3 separate regions of the Homo sapiens genome follow, and regions 2 and 3 are each linked to region 1. The links are contacts of gene promoters, found by promoter capture Hi-C in blood cells and fetal thymus (Javierre and others, 2016). All regions are on one chromosome and are shown on one strand. The core of a region is centred on a gene start or on the middle of the fragment in contact, and the rest is flanking DNA. Distances in the headings are between cores, read along the strand shown.

The links. The method cuts DNA at HindIII sites, captures the fragments that hold promoters and counts their contacts. A CHiCAGO score of 5 or more calls a contact.
Region 2: a contact is called between a fragment that was not itself captured here and the fragment with the promoter of OR52E4 in region 1, in 1 of 17 cell types (megakaryocytes). The highest score is 7.3, in megakaryocytes.
Region 3: a contact is called between the fragment with the promoter of OR52B6 here and the fragment with the promoter of OR52E4 in region 1, in 5 of 17 cell types (neutrophils, monocytes, erythroblasts and 2 more). The highest score is 7.9, in neutrophils.

The regions. Positions count from the first base shown.
Region 1 is chr11:5,877,604-5,882,232 of GRCh38, forward strand. OR52E4 (olfactory receptor family 52 subfamily E member 4) reads left to right here and starts at 3,026. Exons shown (of 2, transcript NM_001005165.2): 1 at 3,026-3,111. It overlaps LOC112268071 (a long non-coding RNA gene), which reads right to left. Exons shown (of 3, transcript XR_002957231.2): 3 at 3,492-3,826. The HindIII fragment of the contact is 16,575 bases long and covers 1-4,629 here.
Region 2 is chr11:5,597,043-5,601,297 of GRCh38, forward strand. All of the region lies in intron 1 of TRIM6 (tripartite motif containing 6), which reads left to right. All of the region lies in intron 1 of TRIM6-TRIM34 (TRIM6-TRIM34 readthrough), which reads left to right. It also overlaps a transcript of TRIM5 not described here. Among named protein-coding and RNA genes, the nearest start is that of TRIM6-TRIM34, 2.5 kb to the left of the region's middle. RefSeq lists enhancers at 1-283, 3,317-3,611. The HindIII fragment of the contact is 2,493 bases long and covers 1,722-4,214 here.
Region 3 is chr11:5,577,264-5,582,126 of GRCh38, forward strand. It overlaps OR52B6 (olfactory receptor family 52 subfamily B member 6), which reads left to right and starts at 3,614. Exons shown (of 1, transcript NM_001005162.2): 1 at 3,614-4,621. The coding sequence starts at 3,614. The coding sequence ends at 4,621. RefSeq lists a silencer at 3,856-4,150 and an enhancer at 3,856-4,150. The HindIII fragment of the contact is 3,709 bases long and covers 2,249-4,863 here.

The sequences.
Region 1 (4,629 bases), core at 1,776-4,275:
TAGCCAGAACAATGAATTAATAATTACATTTTAATGAAAGTAACTGAAGGAGAGGAGTGCTCATTTGTGAGACCCTGAGCCTAGAACCCTGGCTCCACAGCCACTCCAAGCCACTGTACTTCGAGCCCAGCGCTGCTGCAGCTGCTTATAGGCCATGTCAAATCTGAGGGATTCTGTCAGCTGAGTCCCCTCACTGCGGGAAAAATTAAAAATAAGAGGACCCCAAAAGCCCTTGACACTAAGGACATAAACAAATTGTGCCACCACTACTGCTGTGCCACTACAAACTTCTACAGTCTAAGCCACTGAGGCACCCACAGTTATTGCTGACATTAAACTCAGCTCAGGAAGCTGCACGGAGACTATGCTACACCCATCTGGAAACAGAGTCACCACACTCTTCCCAACTGGCACACTAAAACCCAACTGCAGGTGATAGTTGTCCTGTATAAAAACCACTCTGGAAAGTTTGGAGATAAGCAGATACACAGGCATCAATATAGAGACACAAGAAACATGAAAAGGCAAAGACATATGATACCACCAAAGGAACATAACACTGTAGTAACAGACTCCAGTAAAAAGAAAATCAACAAATTGCCAAAGAAAAAAAATCAAAATAATGATGCTGAGAAGACTCAATAAAATACAAGAATATACAGCATAGACAATTCAATAAAATCAGGAAAACAATTCATGAAACAAATGAGAAATTCAACAGAAGATAAAAATCATAAAAATCAAATAGAAATCCTGTAGCTGAAGAATTCAATGAATAAGTTTTCAAGTTACAATAGAGAGATTCAATAGCAGACTTGGTCAAGCAGAAGAATCTGTTGACAGGTTGTTTGAAATAAGTCAAAGAAAAACAAAAGAAGGATTTAAAAAAGTAAAGAAATAATGGTGTTCCTTAATGGGATGCCATTAAGTAAACAAATATTTGTATTATGAGAATTCTAGAAGGAGAAGAGAAAGAAAAGGACAAAGGAAACCTATTTAATAAAATAACAGCTGAAAACTTTCCAAATATGAAGAGAGATGTAGATATCCAGATCCGAAAGCTCAAAATCCCCTATGTAAATTCAACTCAAGAAGGTCCTCCCCGAGGCATTATAATGTCAAACTGTCAAAAGTCCAAGACAAAAAGTCTCTAGGCCTTTAGGCTATTTGGCATGAGGAAACAGTGAAAATAGTGGGAAAATATATCCAATCCTTCAACACTTTTCAGAAGTAATGTCCTCAGGGAACAGCTGGGTTTCTGTTTCAAAAGGAAGAGAAACAGAACATCAGAAGTGGTTTAAGGCCAAAAATAATATCACTGCTCATAAAAAATTGATTCTAGAAGTCACAGTGAAATAGTCTTGGGAATAGGAGAGGGGTAGGTACAGTGACCAATTAGGAGATATATGATTATATGATATGACCCTAACAGAACTAGAATTTTTATGTTTTAAAAATAATGTAATTCAATGCCAGAACACCTCCTACAATCAAAGCACTATACTAAGTGAACTGAAGGATAAAGTTGACTTAAACATCACTCTAATATCAATCCATAAAATAATGGAAGACAGAAAACACAAAACCAACACAAAATAAAATTTGCCTGTTATAATAGTGGCACACACTGATGTGAAAATACAAAAGACACAAAGATTATATCAGATTGATTCATATGAAAGGTCATTAAGAAGTATAGGACAATTGAGAAAGTGCTGAAGCAAAGTAGAAATGAGATGAAGTTATTTCATATGGAGGACTTTTGATTATCAAAGACAAGATGTGTGTTCGGGAGTCATGTAGTATAATGAAAGTATAAAAAGTTGATTGGGTATTGAGTGAAGGACTTTGGCAACAATGGTGTTTGCCCCTTATTACATAAAGTCTACAGTATACAATGGAGAATGTAGGGGTCATGGGAAGGAATTTTAAGCAGAAATTGGATAGAGTCAGACTTGATTTGGGAAGATAAATGTGGATACAGTAAGGAAGATGGACACAATGAGGGAGAAACAGGAACCTCAGGAGTTACTTTCTCATTAATCAAAAGAGAAGTAATGAACACAAGAACGTGGCAGATCAAACCAGAATCTCTCTTGGACCACAGACGACATTGCTGTTTCTGTGCTAACAACTCAAAATAGTCTGAACTTAGGAGGCAAAAAATACCAACTAATTGTCTAATGTACTTATTTTTCCCTCAGTCTATTTCTAACTATAGTCAGGAAAACCAGGCTCTGCAGCATGTCCTGGTAGTACTATCGGGTCTACTATGTCATCATTCAGGAAGGGAGCCTCTCAGGAAACACTACCTCTGCTCTGGCTGGAAGGGACAATATAATATGTTTTATAAGGAAAACGTAGAATTTTCTTCACTTTCTGCCAAAAGAGCTGAAACACATGAAAGCCTCTCTTCAAAGACTATCTGTTCACCATTAGTTATAGACTGAGAAGGAGAATCTTGGTGGGTTGGAAGAAAGTTGCTGCTATTATCTGCAGGCATGCACACTGCCAATAAACAGAGTTGTACCACAGAGTCTAATTTGTCTATTTGAGATGTCTTCTCCTTCATCTTTTGAAGCCTCAATTGTAACAGCTGTGAAACTACATCAGGATTTACACAAACATATTAAAACAGAAAAGTTGCTGAGAACAGTTTCATGGTCACACTGTGAAGAGTTAATGGTCCAAAATCAATGCTTTCATGGCTCCTGAGGGAAGCGGAATTAACATCATTCCCCAAACAGATTCCTCTCTCTTCAGGATAGCTCCCTTCCCATCCTTTCATAACACATCTGCTCCCCTGAGCTAAGGAGTTATATCTAGCATGGTGTTTCTCTGCAGATGCAGTGAAGAGGAATAAAGACTTACTATGACTTAATGACCCTCGAGTCCATGTTTCTGCCCAGAGGATTCCGAAGACTAGGCTCGGGGATTCTGGGACATGCCTGGTCATAGGGATGCTCTCACTCACTATAAAGTTGCCTCCACTTTACCAAGCAGGCTTGTTGCTCAGAGGCTTCAAGGGGAACCTAATCACGGTCTTTAAGAACCTGGACTCATGCTCCAATTCTGCTCCAAGTGAGGGCTGGGAGAAGAAATATTACAGAGGTAAGAATGCTTGTGCAGGAGAAGTGAAAAGATACACAGGAGAGAAGAAGAGGGCAAATGAGGATAGAGAGGCCAGATTCTTCCACTTTTCTGAGGAATTATCCTAAGCACCATTGCACCATTTTCTTCACAGAGGAACACAACAGAGCACATGGGATTGGTGAGGGCAGTGGTGTACCAATTAGTAATGCACAGAATTTCTGTCTGTGTATCTCTCTCTCTCCCCCCTTTCTCTCTGCCCCTCTCTCTTACACACACATACACTCATACACACACATTCTCACAGAGTACACTGTTCACAGCCGAAACACCACAAATACAGTCATATAGTAGCATGGCCATACTTGTTGTCAATAAGACAAAAGGATGTTATTGCAGACTTCTTTTGTATGTGTTTATTTAAGGTGGTGGGTGGGTATCACATGTCAATATTCAAATACAATTACATAGGCATTAACATATTTGGTCTGTAAAGTTTTATTCTCTGTTTCCCTCATTGTCTGAGTGAATTTAATGTTGCCAGTTGTAACTTGGTTCCCTATATCCCTACTACTTTATGGAACCATCCCCAAGCCATTTTTATTGTAAGCACAATACCCCTGCTAGATCAGCCGGACTGAACCGCCAATGGCACAGTTATGGAAGAGCCTGAATGAAGGTATTTATCCACTTTATCCATTCATCAACTGCTTTGGTCTCACCAAGATTGGGAAAGCTGTAAGAATAAGAGGAGAAAATTGTTTCTTTTCTAAATGAGCAGTATTGGGTCATATTTGTATCCATAAAAATCTAGACATAAATATTAATGTCTGACTCTGTGCCATTTCTTCACTTTGGCCTCTTCTGAGCCATTCCTCCTTTATCTAATCTTAGGCCAAACTGTGACATAATTTGGACTTTTTACAATGAAATAACTTCTTTCTGCTAACAGGTGAATTATTTTAGCTATCTTGCATTTAAATAAACAAAATATTTGGGAGCATTAATAAAATAAGTAAGTATAATTTGTTGAGGATACACTATGCACTAGCACCTATACAAACATTGGTCTTATTTATCATTAAAATAAACCACATTAGTTATAATTTATCATCTCATTTTTACAGGAGAAAAAAAAACTGATCTATCTGGTTAAAGAATCTGTCCAAGGGTCTCAAGCAAGTAAATGGTTTAGCAGGTTTTCCAGCCATGTCTGAAAAGTTTTAAGGTCCACAGAAGACTTCTGTAATATTCTACTACAGTCAGCAAAAAAATAAAAATCCAACAAAGTAAAAAAAATCACAAGTTCAAAATGTGAACTTTGGTGAGCACAATAAGAGAAAAATTGCTAATTGTTATGAATTTGTCTTTTCAGATGGACTCCAGTAGGGATCTTTGTCAATGTGCATATCTAGAGAAGAACAAACTTAATAATTTGCCCTCAAAAAATGATCTTGAGGTTATTGGCCATACACTGTCTGCTACTGTGGCATATAGTTATAACAGAAAGAAGGCAAGAATTCAGGTAAAACTGTGAGA
Region 2 (4,255 bases), core at 1,718-4,217, 280 kb before region 1:
AAATGACCCCACTGAGGTTAGAGACATTTTAATCAGTCAGTCAATAGAGACAGAAATGTGTGGTTAGGAGCATAGATGCCGCAGCCAGACTGCATGTGTTCAAATCCTGACTCTGACAGACACTGGCTGTGTGCCCGAAGACTGTTAACTTGACTTCTTTGAGCTTTAGTTTCTTCCATCTATAAGATGGACGGAGTAATATGTATATCTTAGAGTTTTGGTGAGGATTGAGTGAGACAGATTTAAACACGTAGGAGGCTGCCTGACACAAATTATGGTCATTATTACTGGCAAACTCCATGCCTAGCTTTAAAAAAATGCACAATCAAAACAATTTTTAAATTATAGGTTTCTGAAATGCAGGGGGTAGAAATTCTTTTGAAGTGGAAATTAAATTTTTTGTTTTGAAACTGATTATGTTCCAATTCAAATATTTATTGAGTCCTGTTAGATAATCAATTGCAGATAATAGGTTAAATATAACCCTACACAAAGATAAAAAAAAATGTTATTCCTAAAGTGCAAGAACTCATGCCCAACTCACTTATAAATGCAACTGCCACCTATTTTATTCCACTTTCACTAGGGCTCCCAGCTGGTGGACGGGCCCGCTCTGTCATTCCTAACTCTGAACCCCCAGCCTACACCAGCCCCAGTATCCCCTGCTGAGTCACTGATTTTTATTCTGAAAGCCATTTTGATATCGATGCAAGCTTCCATTCTAAAAGATGCTTCGTATCTAAATAGCAGGCCATTCTCTGTCCCCCTCCCTCTTCTAGCTGTTTTGCACCCTAAATTGTATCCACCTGGGAAAGAAGGTCCTTTATCTAAGGCAGTGCTTCTGAAGCCTTAATGTGCGTAAGAATCACCTAGAGAACTTTAATATTAAAGTGCAGATTCTGAATCATTCCAGGAAAGACTGAGATTCTGCATAAAGAACTCCAAGTGCTTGCAGTGTTGCTAGTTAGCAGACCTTTTTCAGGCGTCTGGTTCTGATTTAATTGGTCCCACCTGGTTGTGAATTTGGGCTCTTTCTTCTGCTAATTTGATGCACTGGGCTCTGGGACTGCAGGCTCTTCTCGTCTGCACTCCTCACAGTCAGAATGCCTTCTCTCAGCCCGTCCACACTGCTCTGGAGACTTGGCCTCAGTTGGAAACTGGCAGCCTCCCATATCTCCCTTGGGCTGCACTTAGCTGCAGTGGGCAGTCAGGGCTTGCTGGTGTGTGGGCAAGGGTCACCTATGCTAACTGTATGCTCCCCTCCTTCACAATTTCTTTCCCAAGCCTCAGCTTTGACAAGAGACCTCAACTCTTACAAATCTTTTTTCTGCTCAAGAATTTTTCTCTGTCTAAAGAGAGTATTAGATGAATATCTACAGCGCATATTAGATAGGAAAAAGACATATAATGAACTAGAAATAGAATGAAGCCACATATGTAATGTTACATACTCAAGTAGCCTCATTAAAAATAAGCGGGTGAAATTAATTTTAATACATTTCATTTAACCCAATACATGCAAAATACAATTAGGACATGTGATCAACATAAAAAAATTAATAAGATCCTTTAACTTTTTTAAACTAAATCTTCAAAATCCAATGTGTATTTTGTACCTAAAGCAACCCATTTCTGAGTAGCCACACTTCAAATGCTCAAGAGCCATATCTGGCTACATGTTTGACAACACAGTTCCATTATGCTTAGAAGATCAGAAACCAAGCTTTTAATTTTTCTTGTATTTTTTTGTTTCTGTCAGTTTATTGAGTTCTATCTAGTAAGTTACAAATTGTAAGCATACAGTTCTGTGAATTTTCACAGTTGCAGTCAGCTGTGTAACCACCACCATGATCATGATACATAAAGGGCATTTCCCTTTATGTATTCACCCTTCAAATTTCCTTATGCCCTTTGCAGTTCAAACTTTTCTCCCACTCCTGGGCCCTGGCTTCCACTGATGTACTTTCAAATACCATAGCTTTCTCTTTTCTAGGATTTCACATAAATAGCATCATACAATAACTTAAATTTGATGTTTGGGTTCTTTCACTTTGCATGCTTTTGAGATTTATCTTGTTGTATATATTAACAGTTTAATTGTTTGGTAATATGCCACTGTATGGATACACCACAGTTTGTTCATTTACCAGTTAGTGATGTCATGGATTCTTTTCAGTTTGGGACTATTACTACATTGCATTTATGAGGCAGTAGTTCTCCTTCAAGAGAATTGGGTACGCTAAATACAGTTTTGCCTGAAATGAAAGTGTGCATGTGTTTGTTGGGGAGGATGAATTGGAATTGGACTTTCAATTAAAATATAATACCAATACAATTATTATATTTATTTATTTATTTATTTATTTATTTATTTATTTTGAGACGGAGTCTCGCTCTGTCGCCCAGGCTGGAGTGCAGTGGCACGATCTCGACTCACTGCAAGCTCCACCTTCCGGGTTCACGCCATTCTCCTGCCTCAGCCTCCCGAGTAGCTGGGACTACAGGCATCCGCCACTACACCCAGCTAAATTTTTGTATTTTTAGTAGAGACAGGGTTTCACCGTGTTAGCCAGGATGGTCTCGATCTCCTGACCTTGTGATCCGCCTGCCTCAGCCTCCCAAAGTGCTGGGATTACAGGCTTGGGCCACCGCGCCCGGCCAACACAATTATTTTTTAACAGTAACACTTTGATAAGATAGCACATTTATTTCTATACTCTAGTGCCAACATCAAGGCCAACTATAAGCTCAGCAGTAAGCTATAATTTTCAATCCATTATAAAGTTAATTGATCATTTCCTGTGTTAGCTGCAGTGCTAAGGTCTGGGGCACCTGGAAGATAAATAGAGCCTCTATTGCCTCTAGAGCCTCTATTGCCTCTATTATCAAAGGCAATAGAGCCTTATAGTGCAGTGTGCTAAGTGAGATGATGTGGGTATGGTAGGAGATATTAACAAAGGAAATAATAGTGCAGTTCCCACAGGTGTGATTAATTTGGTTAAACAGACTCTCAGATGATAGGTAAATACGTCTGTAACACCAATTAGTACTACCAGTTAGATGCACAGAGTTCATTAATTTGTTAATTATATTTTGCACCCTTTATGGAGATGAGGAATATAAGGGAGTAATAAGAGCTCCAGCTCTGCAGCCTGCGTATCTGCATTCAACACCGGCCCCGCCACTTGAAAGATCTACTAAATACCAGTTTATACAACTATGAGATGAGATTTAAGGGACATTCATAATGTTGTTATGTGGAATTATTGAGTTATTATGTACAAAATAATTAAATTCTTGCTGAATACCTAATGGGCTTTCTGTAGATATTTGCTGTGAGCATCGCTGCTGCTAAGCATGGCAAAGCTGAAGAGCCAGGCTAGTACTTGCAGAAGCACCACAGAACACTAGATGGCAGCGCCAAGAACCTGTTTTCGGCTCGCTAGATCCCCCAGCAGGGCCGCTAGGAGGCTTATGCTTACATCCCATGACTTTTTCTTACCCTTATCTGAGACACTTTCTCAGGCCCTTTCTTCTAAGGGGAGTGTTGTTATTGGGAGGCAGTTTGATATACTTTTTAAATCCACCAGGTCCTCAAGATGGGGGTAAATTGGTACAATTTACAGGGCCTTGTGTTGAGGCCCACACGGACTGTTTTTTACATCAGTGTACATTTACTTTTGCTGGGAAACCAGCCAAAGACAAGTTAGAGAATTCTGCCTGCTCCCTACGCACTGTGGCCTGTTCAGAACAGCGAGGTCACGCCTGGAACCAGGGCCAGAGCTTCACATAGGCAGTGTTAGCTGGCTCTTCTTTGGTGGCCCAAACACAACTCCAGGTAGACAAGCAGAACAAATGGCTCCCAGTGAAAATAACTCAGTGCTGGAAACAGTTTTAAAAATTTTCTAAAGAGTATTCTCAGTGTGATTTTAAACAATGGTAACGTAATTTATCAACAACTCTTCCAAGAAAAATAGACAATAAAGGTCATATTTCTCAATGAAGATATAAGGTCTCAACTGCCTTACCGGCCACCTCTCCTTACATATGGACCCCCTTAGGATCCTGCTGAAGTTTAAGACAGGCCCTGGCAAAATCCCATCATCAAATAGGATCTCTCTCATTTCCATACTTCGAAAGCACTTGGTCCATGCCTGACTTTCACAGCCTTTACCACTGACTGTCTTTGGTCAAAGTTATGAGTTTGAGGACGAAGCTTTGAACTAGCACCCTGGAAAGGTTAGGTTATGCCAAT
Region 3 (4,863 bases), core at 2,364-4,863, 300 kb before region 1:
GAATGCAATAGTACAGAGAAAGTTGCTGATCCAGCCATTTGGAGGGATGAGAAAAATCTTTCTGGATGAGAAATATAGACTGGCTATGTTAAAGAGGAGGATGGAAGTAGAAGAAGCAGAATGTATAAAAGACCACAGGAAAAAAAGAGTAGCTTCAGGGGCATACATGCTTTCCAGTATGAGCAAAGAAAAGAGAAAGCAGGGAGGGGGAGAGAGAGAGAGAGACAGAGAGAGAGAGAGAGAGTGTGTGTGTGTGTGTGTGTGTGTTAGTTGCATGAATCTTTCAGGCAACGGGCAGTTATTATCCTTAATCAAGATAGTGCATATGCAAAATTATCTTTTGGGAACATTGTTTAATTATGAGGAATGGTTTAGAGACTAGAAGAACTGCAGACTAGGAGACCAGTTGGGAGGGCTTTGGATAAGTGGATCTAGAGCCTGGAAAGCAACATAAATGGCAATGTAGATTTGGGAGATATTAGCACATGAAGGCTAAATGGAGCCAAGGTAGTAGACAAGATTGGTCAGAGAGAGGAAAGAGTGAGAAGAGGATTGCTACAGACCATTAGGAAACACAAACAGTAAACCATTCTGCAGGGAGAGAGATGACTTTAATGAGAGCAGGATCAGACCAGGGTACAAGAGAAGAACTGGTGGAAGGTAGAGAAATCAAAGTCAAAAGTGGTCTTTCATGGAAGAATGATTTTTAAAGGAAAGAAGAGAGACAAAACAGTAATTTAAAAGAGAGTTTAGTAGAATAAAATGTTTTTATTATAGCTGTTGTTAATTTTTTGCTTGTCTTCAAGTTAAAAATATTTGAATATTCTTTAATAAAGATCCAGGAAATCAGGAGAAGCTGAAGATAAAGACAGAGAATAATTGATGAAACAAAGTCCCTGAATTGGTAGGAAAGAAAGGTAATTCAGAGAATAGATGGGGAAATTATTCTTGACGATACAGCTACATACATTCATACACATAAACACATGTATATACATGCATATGTATATATGTACACATATGAATGCATGCATGTAAGTATGCATATGTATGTTTGTGTGTGTATAAGGTTGTTTTAAAAACAATCTAATATGTTAAATATTCATACACGAGGCCCTAGGTTCATTTCCCAGCACCTCAAAAAATAACTCAAGAAACTTGTCTTATATTTAGGTAAAGTAAAATATGTTCCAGCTATGACAAAAGAAACATTGGAAAATAGGAAAGATACTGGCACCTCTTTCTCTGGGACTGGAGGAAATGAGGGGAGGATGGATGCAGAGATAAATAAATGTACAGGAAAGGAATAATATGAGGGATATGTTCCTGATAGTCCTGAAATGTGAGTTACAAAAGAGAAACATTCAGTGGAGAGAGAAAAACAGAATTTGGGCAGTGATAAAAGTCGTATATGCCAGGTGTGGTGGCTCACATATGGGAGCCACCAGCACTTTGGGAGGCCAATGCCAGCATTTTGGGAGGCCAAGGCAGCTGGATCACTTGAGGTCAGGAGTTCAAGACCAGCCTGGCCAACATGATGAAACCCCATCTCTACTAAAAATACAAAAAAAAAATTAGCTGGGCATGGTGGTGGGCGCCTGTAATCCCAGTTATTTGGGAGGCTGAGACAGGAGAATCACTTGAACCCAGGAGGCAGAGGTTGCAGTGAGCGGAGATCACGTCATTGCACTCTAGGCAGGGAGACAGAGTGAGACTCCATCTCAAAAAAAAAAAAAAAGTCGTATATTCATTGTGAGAATAGTTCAATAGGACTAAGGAGGAATCATGTGTCCTAATATGTACTAAAGACTACTTATGTGATTGTGTCATTTTTTCACATCCTGACTATGTAAGCTGAGGATAACACTAGTTAGATTTAGTTGAAGTCTGAGAATTTACAGATGCAGGGGAAACCAATGGATACTAAAAGGTAATGATCCTGGTGGAACTGATAGACATCTAGAGTAGATAGGGAAGAAAGTTCAAAAAGTTCTTACATCAGTGGCTCACAAACTTCAGCATGAATCAGAATCACCTAGAGAGCTTGCTAAAACACAGAATGTTATCCCAACTCTAGGTTTTCTCATCCGTAGGTTTGTGGTAGGGCCGAAGAATTTACAAGTTCCCTGATGGTGCTGTGGAGACCAAGCTTCAGAAGCATTGTTCTACACCTTCCTTTCTGCTCTGGATGACAGTGCCACATTTCACAGCCACAGAGGTGACTCAGGAAGTCACACGCAATTTAATAAGCTTTCCACAGAGAAAATTTAGCTTAATATACCAACAAAACAACAATTATGCTCATTTTAAAAATTAGAAAATTGCTCACACCTGTAATCCCAGCACTTTGGGAGGCCCAGGTGGGTGGATCACGAGGTCAGGAGATCGAGACCATCCTGGCTAACACGGTGAAACCCCGTCTCTACCAAAAATACAAAAAAATTAGCCGGGCGTGGTGGAGGGCGCCTGTAGTCCCAGCTCCTTGGGAGGCTGAGGCAGGAGAATGGCGTGAGCCTGGGAGGCGGAGCTTGCAGTGAGCCGAGATCGCGCCACTGCACTCCAGCCTGGGCGACAGAGCGAGACTCCGTCTCAAAAAAAAAAAAAAAAGAAAGAAAGAAAGAAAATTGTTACTCAGAGAAGACAGTGACTTGTCCAAGATCAAGCAGCCAATAGTTAACAGGGCAGACCTCTGACCCAGGTTTTTTCACACCCTCTGCGGTGTTCTTTCTAAATGCCGTAGCTACCTTAATTGCCTTCATACTTAGCGCATCTGTGCCTAGGGAAAAATGGGTGTAGGGTTGGCAGTGCCCACCACCCCCAACCCTACTCTTTCACATAATCTGCTAATCAAATTGTTGTTTAGTCCTCTTGTTGTAGGACTGCAGTCCTCTCTGTAGGGCCTGGGGCTTTTGCAGAGCTCATTACAGTTCACATGCCCAAAGAGATTGTACAGATTGGTTTTGATGTTCTACCTATCCCTGTTCTTTTCTGGACCTATGGCACTGTGCTGAGTCTGGCAATGTTTTTGAGCCCTTTAGTTTCCTGAAAAAAAATTTTTTTTTTTTTGAGACGGAGTCTCACTCTGTCGCCCAGGCTGGAGTGCAGTGGCGCGATCTCGGCTCACTGCAACCTCCGCCCTCCAAGTTCAAGTGATTCTCCTGCCTCGGCCTCCCGAGTAGCTGGGATTACAGGCGCCTGCTACCACACCCAGCTGATTTTTTGTATTTTCAGTAGAGACAGGGTTTCACCATCTTGACCAGGCTGGTCTTGAACTCCTGACCTCGTGATCCACCAGCCTCAGCCTCCCAAAGTGCTGCGATTACAGGCGTGAGCCACTGCGCCCGGCCTAGTTTCCTGAAATTCTTAAAGCTGTGTGGAGAGCTTCTGAGTAAGAACACTGAGCCTGTCTGTGGGCAGGTCCTGTAACTGTGCAGAGCCTATGTGTAATTATTTACGGAGAATATGGCTGTGTGCAGAGCCTGTGTGTGATTATCTGTAGAGATATGCCTGTGTGCAGAAGCCATAACTGTCATCGGGCCTGTAAGTATATGCAGGCCTTGTGCATATGGACACTCTACTAATGTATTCAAAAATCTGAAGCTCTTTTTTCCCTATGGCACAGGTGAGGGCGCTGCATAAAATCATGGCCCTTTTTTCTGCTAACAGCATAGGTGCTATGAACAACTCTGACACTCGCATAGCAGGCTGCTTCCTCACTGGCATCCCTGGGCTGGAGCAACTACATATCTGGCTGTCCATCCCCTTCTGCATCATGTACATCACTGCCCTGGAAGGCAATGGCATCCTAATTTGTGTCATCCTCTCCCAGGCAATCCTGCATGAGCCCATGTACATATTCTTATCTATGCTGGCCAGTGCTGATGTCTTGCTCTCTACCACCACCATGCCTAAGGCCCTGGCCAATTTGTGGCTAGGTTATAGCCTCATTTCCTTTGATGGCTGCCTCACTCAGATGTTCTTCATTCACTTCCTCTTCATTCACTCTGCTGTCCTGCTGGCCATGGCCTTTGACCGCTATGTGGCCATCTGCTCCCCCCTGCGATATGTCACAATCCTCACAAGCAAGGTCATTGGGAAGATCGTCACTGCCGCCCTGAGCCACAGCTTCATCATTATGTTTCCATCCATCTTTCTCCTTGAGCACCTGCACTATTGCCAGATCAATATCATTGCACACACATTTTGTGAGCACATGGGCATTGCCCATCTGTCCTGTTCTGATATCTCCATCAATGTCTGGTATGGGTTGGCAGCTGCTCTTCTCTCCACAGGCCTAGACATCATGCTTATTACTGTTTCCTACATCCACATCCTCCAAGCAGTCTTCCGCCTCCTTTCTCAAGATGCCCGCTCCAAGGCCCTGAGTACCTGTGGATCCCATATCTGTGTCATCCTACTCTTCTATGTCCCTGCGCTTTTTTCTGTCTTTGCCTACAGGTTTGGTGGGAGAAGCGTCCCATGCTATGTCCATATTCTCCTGGCCAGCCTCTACGTTGTCATTCCTCCTATGCTCAATCCCGTTATTTATGGAGTGAGGACTAAGCCAATACTGGAAGGGGCTAAGCAGATGTTTTCAAATCTTGCCAAAGGATCTAAATAAATGCTTTCAACTTAGTCTCAACCCTTTTCTATACCTATCAATTGTCCCGTATTTAGCCCATTCTCACCTCTACATCTTCCAATTATCCCTGTGTTATTCTCATCGATCTCCCAATTTTTTTAAATATGTCACCTATTCAAACCCACCTCTGATTTCTTTTATTGGAAATCTTTAGTAAAATCTGTCTCATTCTCTTACTCTTCCTATTGAAATGCAATCTGATTTCCCATCACCTCAAGAAA